Regions from separate parts of the Homo sapiens genome. Here region 1 is linked to region 2. Evidence: promoter capture Hi-C in human tissues and cell types (Jung and others, 2019). All regions are on one chromosome and are shown on one strand. The core of a region is centred on a gene start or on the middle of the fragment in contact, and the rest is flanking DNA. Distances in the headings are between cores, read along the strand shown.

What was found. Contacts are between HindIII fragments. The study calls those that stand out against the background at their distance.
Region 1: a fragment that was not itself captured here is called in contact with the fragment with the promoter of CDH10 in region 2 in 1 of the 25 tissues and cell types used here (dorsolateral prefrontal cortex).

Annotation. Positions count from the first base shown.
Region 1 is chr5:26,324,361-26,331,233 of GRCh38, reverse strand. No RefSeq gene overlaps it. Among named protein-coding and RNA genes, the nearest start is that of TRK-CTT9-1, 130 kb to the right of the region's middle. The HindIII fragment of the contact is 6,629 bases long and covers 226-6,854 here.
Region 2 is chr5:24,640,226-24,646,748 of GRCh38, reverse strand. CDH10 (cadherin 10) reads left to right here and starts at 1,771. Exons shown (of 12, transcript NM_006727.5): 1 at 1,771-2,155. It overlaps LOC124901174 (a long non-coding RNA gene), which reads right to left and starts at 2,040. Exons shown (of 2, transcript XR_007059125.1): 1 at 1,677-2,040; 2 at 1,235-1,438. RefSeq lists an enhancer at 1,479-2,074. The HindIII fragment of the contact is 10,153 bases long and covers 1-6,523 here.

The sequences.
Region 1 (6,873 bases), core at 2,291-4,790, 1.7 Mb before region 2:
ATGTTAGAATTATATCTGCTTTTATATTATATTCCATAATGGATTTGCTTATTTAGCCTAAAGATATAGTCTACTGTTATAATTGGCAATTAAATTTGTTTTCAATAACCCTCAACTCTCTTTTTTCATTTCTTTTTCTTATACTACCAGTTTTATTATCTTTATGCTTCTTTTCAGATATTTCATTGGTTTGTAAAAATGCTTTCTTTTTAAGTTAAACAAAATTACCATTTATAGAAAATCTCTTAATATACCATAACCTACTTGACCCATTATCCTTGTTGAAATATGAATTTTACTACAGTTTTCTTGTGATCATTACACAGTGCCATTCAGAACATTTTTAGAGTTTCTTTTTCAAAAAGCAACAAACAATAACATTAAAAATGTCAAAATAAACACAAACAGTAGAAAACAATAAAACATACCTTCAAAAAAGGCAAAAGGAGGAAAATTTTCTAAAGAACTGAAGTCAGAGAAAATAAAATATAAAGTGGAAAGGAGATTAAAGATGTACTTTTAAACTTCCCAAAGGAAATATATTTGCTATTTTACTAATCACTGTGAGCCTGCCTAAGGAAGATAATCATATATTCATATCTCAATCTTTTTGAGTTTTATTTTTACCTCATTGTGTAGAAAAATGAAATAACCTCTTATAGTATTAGTTTTACGAGAGAAACTTGAAAACTATATAAAAGATACACCATCATGCTCACACACAGACACAAACACACACACATGCACACACAAATGCACACACACAAAATAATGGACTGTTCAGAGCAAATAGAGCTATTGGTAATTAAACTATGAAAGTCATCTACTACTTCTGTTTTCCTGGAATTAAATCTTAACTGAACTGAGCAATTTTTAGTATATTATTTAAGGCTATTCACAATTACTACTTTACTTTATCTACAATGATATGTTGTGTAATGTGATGTAAAAGGCATGTGTATTGGTTAGTGTTTGAATCAAAGTGCTGTCTTCATAACCTGGAAACCCATGTACTAATTTACTCTCATTTGTATGAGTTTGAAAATTGGACTTTATAGAAAATTTAAACATCATTAAAGAGTGTACTCACATTCTAGGGAAAGCTGGAATGAGCTAATTTGAGTGCATATTCTGCATATATGCATCTTATGTTTCAAGATTAGTGAAAGAAGAAAGCCTTAATGAGGAGAAAGCTACTTTTCTGCCAGTGATGCAATATCAGTGAATAGTATTGTTAGCCAATTACTCGGGAATTTTATAGAAAAATATATTAAAATTAGGATTGAATATATAGTTCAAGCACATATAATAGTTGTATAACAATGAAATGTGTATACTATCACCCATTCTTAAAATATAGTGATTCAAGAGGATATTTCCTTTGCTATTTTTCTTTACTGCTTGGTCTCTATTTTTAATTCCTCTGGGTGATTTTCCCACTGATTCTCTCTTCCACTAGATGTCAGGCAAGAGGAGGGAGTGGTAGTGAATCTCAAACTACGACTACAGTTACTTTTTAAAGTGTTGGAAATTGATGACTAAACATAGCTAAAGTGAATAGCGATCAGGCATATGGAAGATAAAATGCTCCGATAATTAATTTGAAATAATATTAATAACATCAGCTGCAGAAGGAACTGTATTCTCTCACAGTAATTCCAATCTCTGTTTTATCTTCCTGAGGGAAAAAAAATTCCCTGACTGTTTAGCAAGTTTAGTTCCACTTATGCTTTCCTAAAACAACATGCACTTCTCCTTTGTAGCATTCAACACAATTTTAATTGAATAATTAATTTTGTCAAGGTTGACTGAATGCATATTCACTACCTCCTTTCAAATATAAACCTTGTGAGGTAGGGACTAAGTCTGTTTCGTTAATTGTTTTATTCACAGACTGTAGCATAATACATTGGCAGATAGAAAACTTTAAAAAAAAATCATGCACTGAAGACATGACTAAATAAAAGGAATAAATATGAAATAATGAACAGATGAATGATGATATGAAGTTATCCATTTCTAGCAGGAACATATTTCATTTTTAGATTCATTGTTCAGGCTCAATTTATTTATTTCTCTTAAAAACTTACAAGACTCGTGAGAATGCTCTGGCCTCTTTAGTAGACTAGCTATAATATGATGGTTAAAATATCCTTAGAAGGAAGCACTAATGACACTATTGATACATAATGGATGATTCCCACAATAAAAAGGGGCACAATTTAGAAACGCATATTCTACTTGAGAACATAAATATATGAGTGATTTGAGCATATTATGCATGTTTTTACCATGTGATAGTTTATTATGTTACATGCCAATTCCTCTAGTGAGCACTTAAAATGCACAACAGAAGATGACTTATCATCCTTGCTTCTCCTTGCCCAATTCGTGTTCCATGCTATTGAATTAACTACTTCTTCTCCCTAGAAAAATCAATCTCCCTCATTCTTAATGGACGTGAAGATTTTCTTACTTACTTCTCAGGAAACCTCTACATGCCACCTTCTCAATAAATCATCCCCCAACTCCCTAGGTATATAATTGCCGGTTCTCTTTGTTCCCATGCACATTTATGTAAGTAAGATCTGCAATAACACGTAGCAAGTTTTATTGCAGCTTATAGCATATATGCATGTTTCTTGCCAAGTATTAAATGCCCTCACAAAGGGAACCATATTTATTATCTGTAGGCCTTTGCAGAGTAATACAAGTTAGATACCTAGTAAATATGTTGAATAATTTAATAACATAATAAACTGAGTATAAAGTGAGGGAAGGTGAAGAGTTTTATCATTTAGAGTAGGTACTGAAATAGCATAATCAATTAAGGATTCAGTCCCATTAAATTAGGTAATCTGAGTATAAGTCAATAATCAAATTTTAAGCATTGCCTCTTTCTTTTACTTCCAAGATCAGAGATTCAGCTATTTACTTTCAGGGCTACGGCATATCTTATTTTGCTAGTTTCCAGGAATAATTTGTCTTTGCTTCATGATGTCATATTTCATTTTCCTCTGATACCTTCACTATCTCACATCAGAAGTTTATTCTTTAGAAATCTTCGTTCTTTTTCACAGTTCTCAACATTTAGATCGTAACATACATGGATGCAATTCATCAATCAATAATTAAGTTAGCATTAGTGAATTCTATATTTTTATCTTATTGCCTTTACAAAATAGGAAATTTGAAGTGGGTTATTTCTGTTCACAATAATCTAGTATTTCTTACTTACAGTAAATTCCATTATGACAATTGAGAGTAGAATGAAGAATGGAGGAGGAACTTCTCTGCGAAAACAAATAATTTTGTAAGCTTTTTCCTCAATGCACTAATTAAGTGGGAGACCATGGATTTCATTAGGAAAAGATGTTATGGCTGAGGCTGGTCACTGGAGCACAGAAGTTCAAGACAAGCCTGGGCAACATAGCAATACCCCATCTCTACAAAAGTAAAAAATAAATTAGGCAGGAGTGGCAGCATACAGCTATGGTTTCAGCTACTTGGGAGGCCGAGATGGGAGGATCATTTGAACATGGGAGGTCAATGCTGGAGTGAACTGTGTTCACACCACTGCACTCCAGCCTGCACTCCACTTATTCCAGAGTAACATTCTGTCTCAAATTTTAAAAAAGAAAAAAAAAGGAGGAGAGAGAAAGAGAGAGAATATGGAGCCAGGCACATATCGTATCCTATCTCAAATGTATTTTCAGTGCCTTATTTTTACAATTTAACTACATCCACATATTGAAGTGTACTCTAGTCTTTCCTGATAAAATAAAAAGCAAAACATATGAAAACATACAAACACAATAACAGTGTCTGTTTATATCTCACACTTTTTTCTCCTGTTACTAGCCCATTTCTTTCCTCTTAAGTTCTATACTCATGATCTTCCTTTCATAACACTTACAACACATCAATAAACCTACATTTTTATCCCTAAGGTTATCATTGACTTTCATGTTGCTAAATTCAATAGACATTATCAGTTTTCATTCTCGGATTATTTTCACATTTTTTTACGGTGGAATTTTCTTCTCATTCTCTTTTGACTCCTCTACATTGTGTGCGTGCGTGTGCACGAGCACGTGCATGTGTGTACCAATGCATGTGAATGTGAATTGTGTATATACATGTAAGGTTTTCTTCTTTTTTTTCTCTTTTTTTTTTTTTGGAGACCAAGTCTCGCTATGTCGCCCAGGCTGGAGTGCAGTGGCATGATCTCGGCTCACTGCTAGCTCCACCTCCCTGGTTCACGCCATTCTCCTGCCTCAGCCTCCTGAGTAGCTGGACTACAGGCACCTGCCACCACACCCGACTAATTTTTTGTATTTTTAGTAGAGACGGGGTTTCACCGTATTAGACATGATGGTCTCAATCTCATGACCTTGTGATCCGCCTGCCTCAGCCTCCCAAAGTGCTGGGATTACAGGCGTGAGCCGCCGCGCTTGGCCTATACATGTTAAGTTTTTAAGGATAATATCTGTTCTGATAAATCTACAACAACAAAGGATAATGTTTAGCATATAGATACCACTTAGTAAATGTTTATTAAGTGATTTGCTATAATGTAAATGATGGCAGCAATGAGCAGTGGCTGCTGCCAAGACACCAGCTGCAGTGGGGTAGGTGTGGCTGGGCTGCATGCTCCATGGAGCGGGCGGGAGCTGATATCAAGCGGTAGCCTCACCCTCCTGGGTACAGCTATAGAGCCACGGCTGCGGACCCGGGCATCTCTGTACCCTGCCCCACTTTCAGGCTCAGAGATGTCTGCTCCCATTGCCTGACTTCTTCCAGCTCCTGGCACCAATCTTGAAGGGAGGTTGGTCCTGAATCCAGGTGTTTTCACAGCCTGGCCGGGTGTACACATGTTTGGGGTAGCGCTGACACGCAAGCTCCCCGCTATGTCGCCCCCGCCGGACTTTGGGTGCTGATGAGCATGTGAGGGAAGCTGAGGGGAGGTGAAGGGCAGCTCAGTGCTGTACTGCAGGTGCCGCTTCACGTAAACAGCCTGGGCTCCATGAACAGCGGCAAGAGACAGACAGGCTCCTAGGTGGAAGGGGACGTGTCCCTAATAAAGCTCCACCTTCAAGCTGGGAGGACTTGAATCCCAGGGCAGGCTGCGGGTCCTGCGGACTAGAATGGGGACTTGTGGGGTTTTTTCAGGGCCCACCATGGCCACCCATGGACCAATCGGCATGCACTTCCTCCCCTCTGAGGTCCATAAAAGCCCTGAACTGAGCCATACTTGAGGACATGACAGGATGGCAAGCTGTGGAGATGAACCACCCACTCCAGGGTCTCTTCTTTGCTCAGAGTTGAACATTCTTTGGGTCACCCTGACAGCAAAGAGGAGCTATGCATTGTGGGTCTCCTCTGAGCTGCTCAATAAAACTCCTCATTGCCTTGCTCACCCTCCACTTGTCTGCGTACTTCATTCTTCCTGGGTGCAGGACAAGAACTCCGGCACTGCCTACTGGCAGGGTTAAGAGAAATGAGACACAAACAGGGCTGAAACATGCCCCTTGCTTGCCACGTTGTGGGTGACAAGAAGGAGAGAAGAGAGAAGGAAAGAAGAGCTGCAGCCCTACAGGGAGCTCAGACCTGGGAAATCCCCAAGCCAGTGCTTCCGGAATTGGTGGGTTCTTGGTCTCACTGACCTCAAGAATGAAACCGCAGACCCTCGCGGTGAGTGTTACAGCTCTTAAGGTGGTGTGTCTGGAGTTTGTTCCTTCTGATGCTCGGATGTGTTCGGAGTTTCTTCCTTCTGGTGGGTTCGTGGTCTCGCTGGCTCAGGAGTGAAGCTGCAGACCTTCGCGGTGAGTGTTACTGCTCATAAAAGCAGTGTGGACCCAAAGAGTGAGCAGTAGCAAGATTTGTTGCAAACAGGGAAAGAACAAAGCTTCCACAGGGTGGAAGGAGACCCGAGCGGGTTGCCACTGCTGGCTGGGGCAGCCTGCTTTTATTCTTTTATCTGGCCCCCACATCCTGCTGATTGGTAGAGCCCAGCGGTCTGTTTTGACAGAGTGCTGATTGGTGCGTTTACAACCCCTGAGCTAGACACTAAAGTTCTCCACGTCCCCACAAGATTAGCTAGATACAGAGTGTGGACACAAAGGTTCTCCAAGGCCCCACCAGAGTAGCTAGATACAGAGTGTGGATTGGTGCATTCACAAACCCTGAGCTAGACGCAGGGTGCTGATTGGTGTGTTTACAAACCTTGAGCTAGATACAGAGTGCCGATTGGTGTATTTACAATCCCGGAGCTAGACATAAAGGTTCTCCAAGGCCCCACCAGACTCAGGAGCTTAGCTGGCTTCACCCAGTGGATCCCGCACCGGGGCTGCAGGTGGAGCTGCCTGCCAGTCCCACACTGGGCACCCGCACTCCTCAGACCTTGGGTGGTCGATGGGACTGGGCGCCATGGAGCAGGGGGCTGCTCTCACTGGGGAGGCTTGGGCCACACAGGAGCCCATGGAGGGGGTGGGAGGCTCAGGCATGGCTGGCTGCAGGTCCCGAGCCCTGCCCCCCGGGAAGGCAGCTAAGACCTGGTGAGAAATCGAGCGCAGCGCTGGTGGGCTGGCACTGCTGGGGGACCCAGTACACCCTCCGCAGCCGCTGGCCCGGGTGCTAAGCCCCTCATTGCCCCGGGCCGGCAGAGCCGGCCGGCTGCTCCCGCCGGCTGCTCCCGCCGGCTACTCCCGCCGGCTGCTCCGAGTGCGGGGCCCTCCAAGCCCACGCCCACCCGGAACTCCAGCTGGCCCGCAAGCGCCGCGCGCGGCCCCGGTTCCCGCTCACGTCTCTACCTCCACACCTCCCTGCAAGCTGAGGGAGCCGGCTCTGGCCTTGGCCAGCCCAGAAAGGGGC
Region 2 (6,523 bases), core at 522-3,021:
ACCTCAGATCTTAGCCTTTGGTTATTTTCTCGACCCATTTAAATGTAACCCCCAAATTCTTCACATTATGTAGTCATACATTTTGAAATTAGCACTAAACAAACATATGGAAATAGTTAATTTAATAAGAGAACAATGTGTGTGTGTGTACCTAACCTGCTGCATTTAATTAAATATTATAAATTTCTCTTGATAGCTAATTTAACATGTCAATAACAGTATTATATTGAATACACACATATACCAGGCAAACACAAATACACACAAATATACGTATCAGAGGTAAAAAACTGAATATCTATTTTCACTTGACTCTGAAATTAAGGCACCCTGTCGAAGAAAACATACAAAACATAACAAAAACTATGGGCAAATGATACGGTGATAATTCAGAATTCTAGCTCTATTATTATCAAACTTTAGAGGGGCCATAAAATTTTCCTGATCTTAATGCCATCGTCTGTAAAATTAAGAGTTTCAAAAGTCCATTTCTGCTCTAAATGTCATTTAGCTGTTCAGCTCAGTGGAAATGTTTGGTGTTTTCAAATATAAAACTAATTGGTAAAATTCATCATATAATAACACTGTGATACATTAAAACCTTTTTGGAATCTAATTTTGAATCTCCCTCTCACTTCTTTTTTGCCCCTCAGATTGAGTTTCTTCCTTTTTCATTGTGCTGATTATGTAAGGGGCCTGTTGACTGTTAGAATGATCAAACAGGTACAGAGGAGGCAGTATGGCAACCGGAAACAATACTAAACTGGAAGTAGGAGTGTGGTATTACAGCTTTGACCCCGCCTCCAGTTAGTCCTGTGACAATTTAACATTCTGAGCATTTTTATCTGCTAAAGAAATAATAATAATAACAGCCCAAAATGATCTTCGTAATTTCTCCTCTAGCTTTAAAACTATAATTGACATATATGTATTTATATGCATATATGTATGTATATGTGTATATAATTTATTTATGGATGGCACTTTAAAAGGAATCTACCTGTAGCCGGAAAAATGCAAAGATGTTAATTACTTTGTGGAGCTATACTGACATCCTTTGGTAAGGTTTGGTTGATTGCAATTTGATGTGGAGATTGATAAATAGCGAGACAGTTAGATGTTTAAGTAGATAGAACAATCCAAATGTATTTACATCTGTCCACACACTCATTTGGGTATGAAACCCGTATTTATGAGAAAAAACAACGTTAAAAAGAAAAAAAAGGAGACTGTGTCAAGTTCAAAGTCTAAATATTTTAATAACACTAATTACATATTTACATTTTTAATAAAATATTTTATCTATAAAGTATTAAAATGCAAAGATTAGGCAGAGAAGACTGGCTCGCGGACATTCCAAAATGATGAGCGAGGTATGCACTCCTGTGACAATAAGCAACAAGAGAAGGGATTTGGAAAATCAAGCCGAGAAAGTTCCCTGAAAGCAAAAAATAAACATTTAAAATCACAACGAAAAATCACTCTGGTAACATATCAAATCTGGTTGCAATTTGACTTGGCGCTCTGATAATACTTGGATTTCGGTAGTCTGGTGTAAGGACGGTGCAGGAATATATATTCCAGAAGAACTATCTTTTTTTAAAAAAAATTGCAAGAAGCAGTCCTGTTCCTGAGATTGTATTACGGACACAGGCGGATTAGATTGGGCTGATTACCTTAGCCTTGAAACAGAGAGTCTTTCTGCCCTGCGGGGGAGGGGACGCCTTTCAAGCAAAGCCCTCCTCTCGGATGCGCCCTCCCCTCGCATTCACTTGCAAATCGCTGTGTGCTCGCAGAAGCCAGCACTTCCACAGTCTCTAACCTTCCCATGGCGAGTGCTGCAGCTCTATCAGCAGAACCTTTCTCTCCGTGTGAGGAAGAGCTTTTTTCCCCCCTTTCCTTTTTTTTTTTTTTCCTTTCCCCTTAATCAGAAGCACTGAATGAAAGCCAATCAGAGAGAGCTCGCCCCCGTTTTCTTCGGTTCCCTGCTGTCCAGAGTTAAAAGTGATGCTGAGAAAGAGCTTGAGTTAGATTGAAGTAGAATCAGTGATAGAAAATAACAGCCGAAAACAAACAAAAAGGGGACATAGTGACAATTTCTCCTGGGTTATTTTGGCTGGAACCAACTTCCATTATCCAGAAGCTGATAAAAAAGGTAGGAAGACTTCACCTCTTTCTTTTAACTCCGTTAAGGTATTATATATTCCTCCACTTGAGGGGTGGGGGGGGAGAGGGAGGAGATAAATGTTTGTTTTTAAGTTGTGTTTAGCAATTATTTCAAAATAATTATCTTTAATACTTAAATAAGCATACAACTCTATATATTTAATTCTAGAAACAACTGCTTCGAATATCTATATAGGCAATGTAAAGCTGGATAAATTATATATTATGCTCAACAGTGGGTCATGATATTAGAGTTTGTGAATTCATTCACTTGGAACAAATGCTAAAAAATATGTTATGAAGTGAATTTGTCATGCCCAGACTTGTTCATTTTTATTTTAAAAATCAGTTCAAGAGATAACATTGTTACTGTGAACTCTAACATCATCTAACATTACTTTGCATTCCATATGAATGGATTCACTCTGCACTTATTCGTAGTCATAGTTCATTGTACGTTCAATATAAACAGAAATGACAGGCAGAAGACAGATTCCTTGAAACTGTCAATGGTCACTAAGCATCTACATAAATACAATAGATTGACATTCATCAGAAATAGAATAGGCAGAATTCTTATTTTCAATTTTATATCTGAGTCAGAAGTATTGGGGGGAGAGAGGTAAAGAGAGGGAGAGTAAATGCATGTAGTCAGCAGTTGCAGCATTTATTGTTTCTGCTGCAATAAAATCCATATTTTATGTGTTGTTAAATTAATGCAGCATATTGCAAGTATAAATGCATGTCCCCAACAAGTAACTATTGATAGCACTGTAACTATGGGCAAAAGCAGTAGTCTGAAATTGTTTTTATGCCACTAAAATAAAAACCTACTGTCTCCTTATTATGAAAAAAGGGGAGTCTACAGGTACAAAGACAAATATTGTTTTAAAAATGACCTATCATCTTTTGCTTTGAAAAAACAGATGTTTCCTATAATTGTGGTCCTTCATTCCTTCATTCCAGTGAAAGCTTCTATTATCCAAAACTGCACATCCATTACTTCTCAGCTCTTTGGAGATACATTATTTTTTCTCCTCTTTTTTTTTTTCTTGAAGGATCTGTATTAAAAATAATCTGTCCTTCTGATGTTGACAACTGTTATACTTCAATGCATATGTTAGTAGACTTTCTCCCTCCATACCATCCCCCTCTCTATCTTCCTTTAAAACGTAGCTACAAGAGCTTCTCTGTGGTGAATAACACTTGGCAAGAGTGTGCTCATTTTTTAGGTCTGGTATGGTGAGGATTTTTAATTAGTAGAACTTTCATGAAAACATTATGTCATTGACAGAGCCGTATGTTCATTTTTAGTTAAAAGTGATGAAGAAGAAAGAAAGAGGTTATGTCCTAGAAACACAGGTAAATGCTAAGTCGCATAGATAATCTGCACCCCGCTCCCCCGAGTGTACTAAATGTGGCACATATGTATTCAATGTGCAATGCATAAGGAAGTAATGGTTTATTTGGGGAGGGATGTGGTGAAGAGACTGGAGAGTGCACAGGTGTAAACAGCGTGGATCTGTGCCTTAGGGACACGTCAGATGCAAACCCATTCTGATGATAAAAATATAAAGAAATACTTCTTTCACTTTTTTTTTTTTTGGCTGTGTTATTAAAGTGTGAGTCAATGTCTGCTTTCATTAAATCAGATACTTCTTGGGTTTCAAATACTTGCTGTGAACAAATTGACTTCTCTGGTGAATGCATACGCCTTCCCTGACTTCAATCAAAGAATAGAATTTCATACACTTAAAGGTTTGGGGGAAAAAAAACAACAAACAAAACCAAAATCTCTGGGAAATGGGAAAAAAGAAGGTAAACTGTATGAGCATCCACCTACATATGCATATGTGTGAAGTCAATGGTTAAATTGTTTGGTACCTGATTAATGCTCTAGGTGATGTTCCTTGATGTTTATAGAAACTGTTTATTAATTAGAACAGTGCTATGCAGGTAATCAATTTAATATTTCATTGTTAGATTTTTACCCACACTGGGATTTTCTTTAAAAAAGAAAAAGAGAGGATACAAAACTGATTTTAATTTAGAGTGATATTTCTGACACGTTATTTACAAAGTTAGTGTAATCTGGAAGAGGTATGTTTTTTTTCTTGTTGAAAAATAGACTACTTGAAACTGGAAAGGTTAATTCCAAAATATATGAATCTTGCATAAAAAATAGGGTGAATTTCTTGACCTTTACTTAATTTTTTATATAAGCAAATAACTGAGGCAAAGTATATACTATCTGGGGGATTTCTGTGCTTATGACTGATTTCCTATGTCTCTTAACCTACTTTGCAGTAAGTGATAACACGTCTTACTGGAATATGTCATTTTTATACCAAATCATTCCACTAGGCTGCAGCACAGCAGCAGTATTGGCTCTGATGATGCTGAATCAGCAGCAAAGTGAACCATATTCTTGTTAAGTGTTATTATCAGTAATAGTGTTTCATAGTAAGCAATTAATACAAACCAGTGATGCAAACCCAACTATCTCTAGTGTAGCCCTTGGGTATTAAAAGCATTAGCCATATTATATTCTGATTTCTACTATGCAAATTACATTCTAATACTGCTGTCACATTAGAAGTACTTGTAAAATACTGAAATTATAAATAGAAAAACAGTAAAATTATTTATGCCAATTATAAGTAATTTTATGCAGATATTTGATCTCTAAATTTCAGGTCTATGTTTGAAAACTCTACTTTCAATTAACCCAACATATTATCTGGAATAGGGTTTCAAAAGAGACAACTTACTAACCATATTGTATTTAACAGTCATGTCTGGAATAGATTGAAGTTAAAAACCAAGTAGCAAGAAACATTTCCTCATCCTTCTTAAACGTATACTGAGCAATGGTAAAATTGATTAAGCGTTATACTAAGTACAATATATGGTTCATATTATGATATTTTAAGTAGTAAAAAGAAGCGTTCTCGGAATGACACTATAGATGCATATTTGAAAAACTGAAAGTTAGCACAGACAAATCTATTTATCTTTTCTTGACACTTACACAGACCAATGAGTTCACAAAAATATATTGTTTTGTCATAATTACAATAATCTGAAATCTACAGAAAAAATACAAGTCCTAAATTTAAAAGAAAATCTGCCTTTTTCCTTTCTAGTTGAAACCTTTGGATGATATTCACGGAGCATTCATATAATTTTCTGCATTTACCCCAATAAGTTCAACCTTCAAAATTACAGATTTTTTTTTCATGCATAAGAACAAGAAACAATTTCAAACAATTACCAAGCAATGCCTGTTTTCTAAGATAACAATATCAGCTCTGGGTCGCCTGTGCCCTCTTCTTTTCTGACTGTAGAGCAGTCTCACCTCACTTGACATTTTAGTATGAGCCCTTGAGCCCTTTTATAATCCATTTCTCCTGTCTTTCTTGAATAGAAGGGCACCTAAAGCGTATAAGTCCATTTTGCTTTTCCCATACCTTCTTGTCATCACTCACTTGAACTAACTGTAGACACATATTGTCAAAAAATAAGACCCATCACATTAAATTTGTAGATTTCTGGGAATGTATTATTCTTAATGAAATATTAACAATGATGAGTTGAAATAATCTGACCTGTTTAAAAATTATTAATACAACTTTTGCTTAACTCTCTTATCAATGCAACTTCTCACAAAAAAGTAACTCTTGATTTTTTTAAGAATGAAAGTGCTTTATTTTCATCAGTTTCTTTATATTTTTATCTGATTTCTTTCTGGCAATGTATGTGATGACCTATACACTTTAAGAGACATTGGTTAAACATTATGGAACTAAAGAAAGGGAAAGCTGCAAATTAAATAAGAAGGAATACAATAAAATCACATTTTACATCATTTTAGGAAATAAAATGTAGCATTCCTTCAAAATAATGCCTGCCTGTGGGAGATTGAAATGCCTTCATATAAAAATGCCTTTCAGTAAAGGGTTTCGTATCCTTAGAGAGTTTGTCAGAAACATTATAAGCACTTTACGAAATCACATGATTTCAATTTTCAATCTTTTCTTTTTTTTTTTCAAGAAAGTAGTCTTGATTCAACATACTCTATATGATGTGATGATATAAATTAAAGTTAAATGACATTTCAAGATTCAGGACAGAATTAAACAATAGACTATAAGATATAATACAACATTGCTTCACAACAGGAAATTCAGCAATAAATGACATTTCTAAACACTTCAGAGCCCTGCTGATCCCCATAAATTTAGCAGGTCATCTTCTCCCTCTCTCTCTCTTCTACCCCATCTCTCTTTCTGCAAATCTATATCTATTTCCATCTCCCTCTCTTTTTTCCTTTTCTCTCCTTCCTCATTTAAAACAA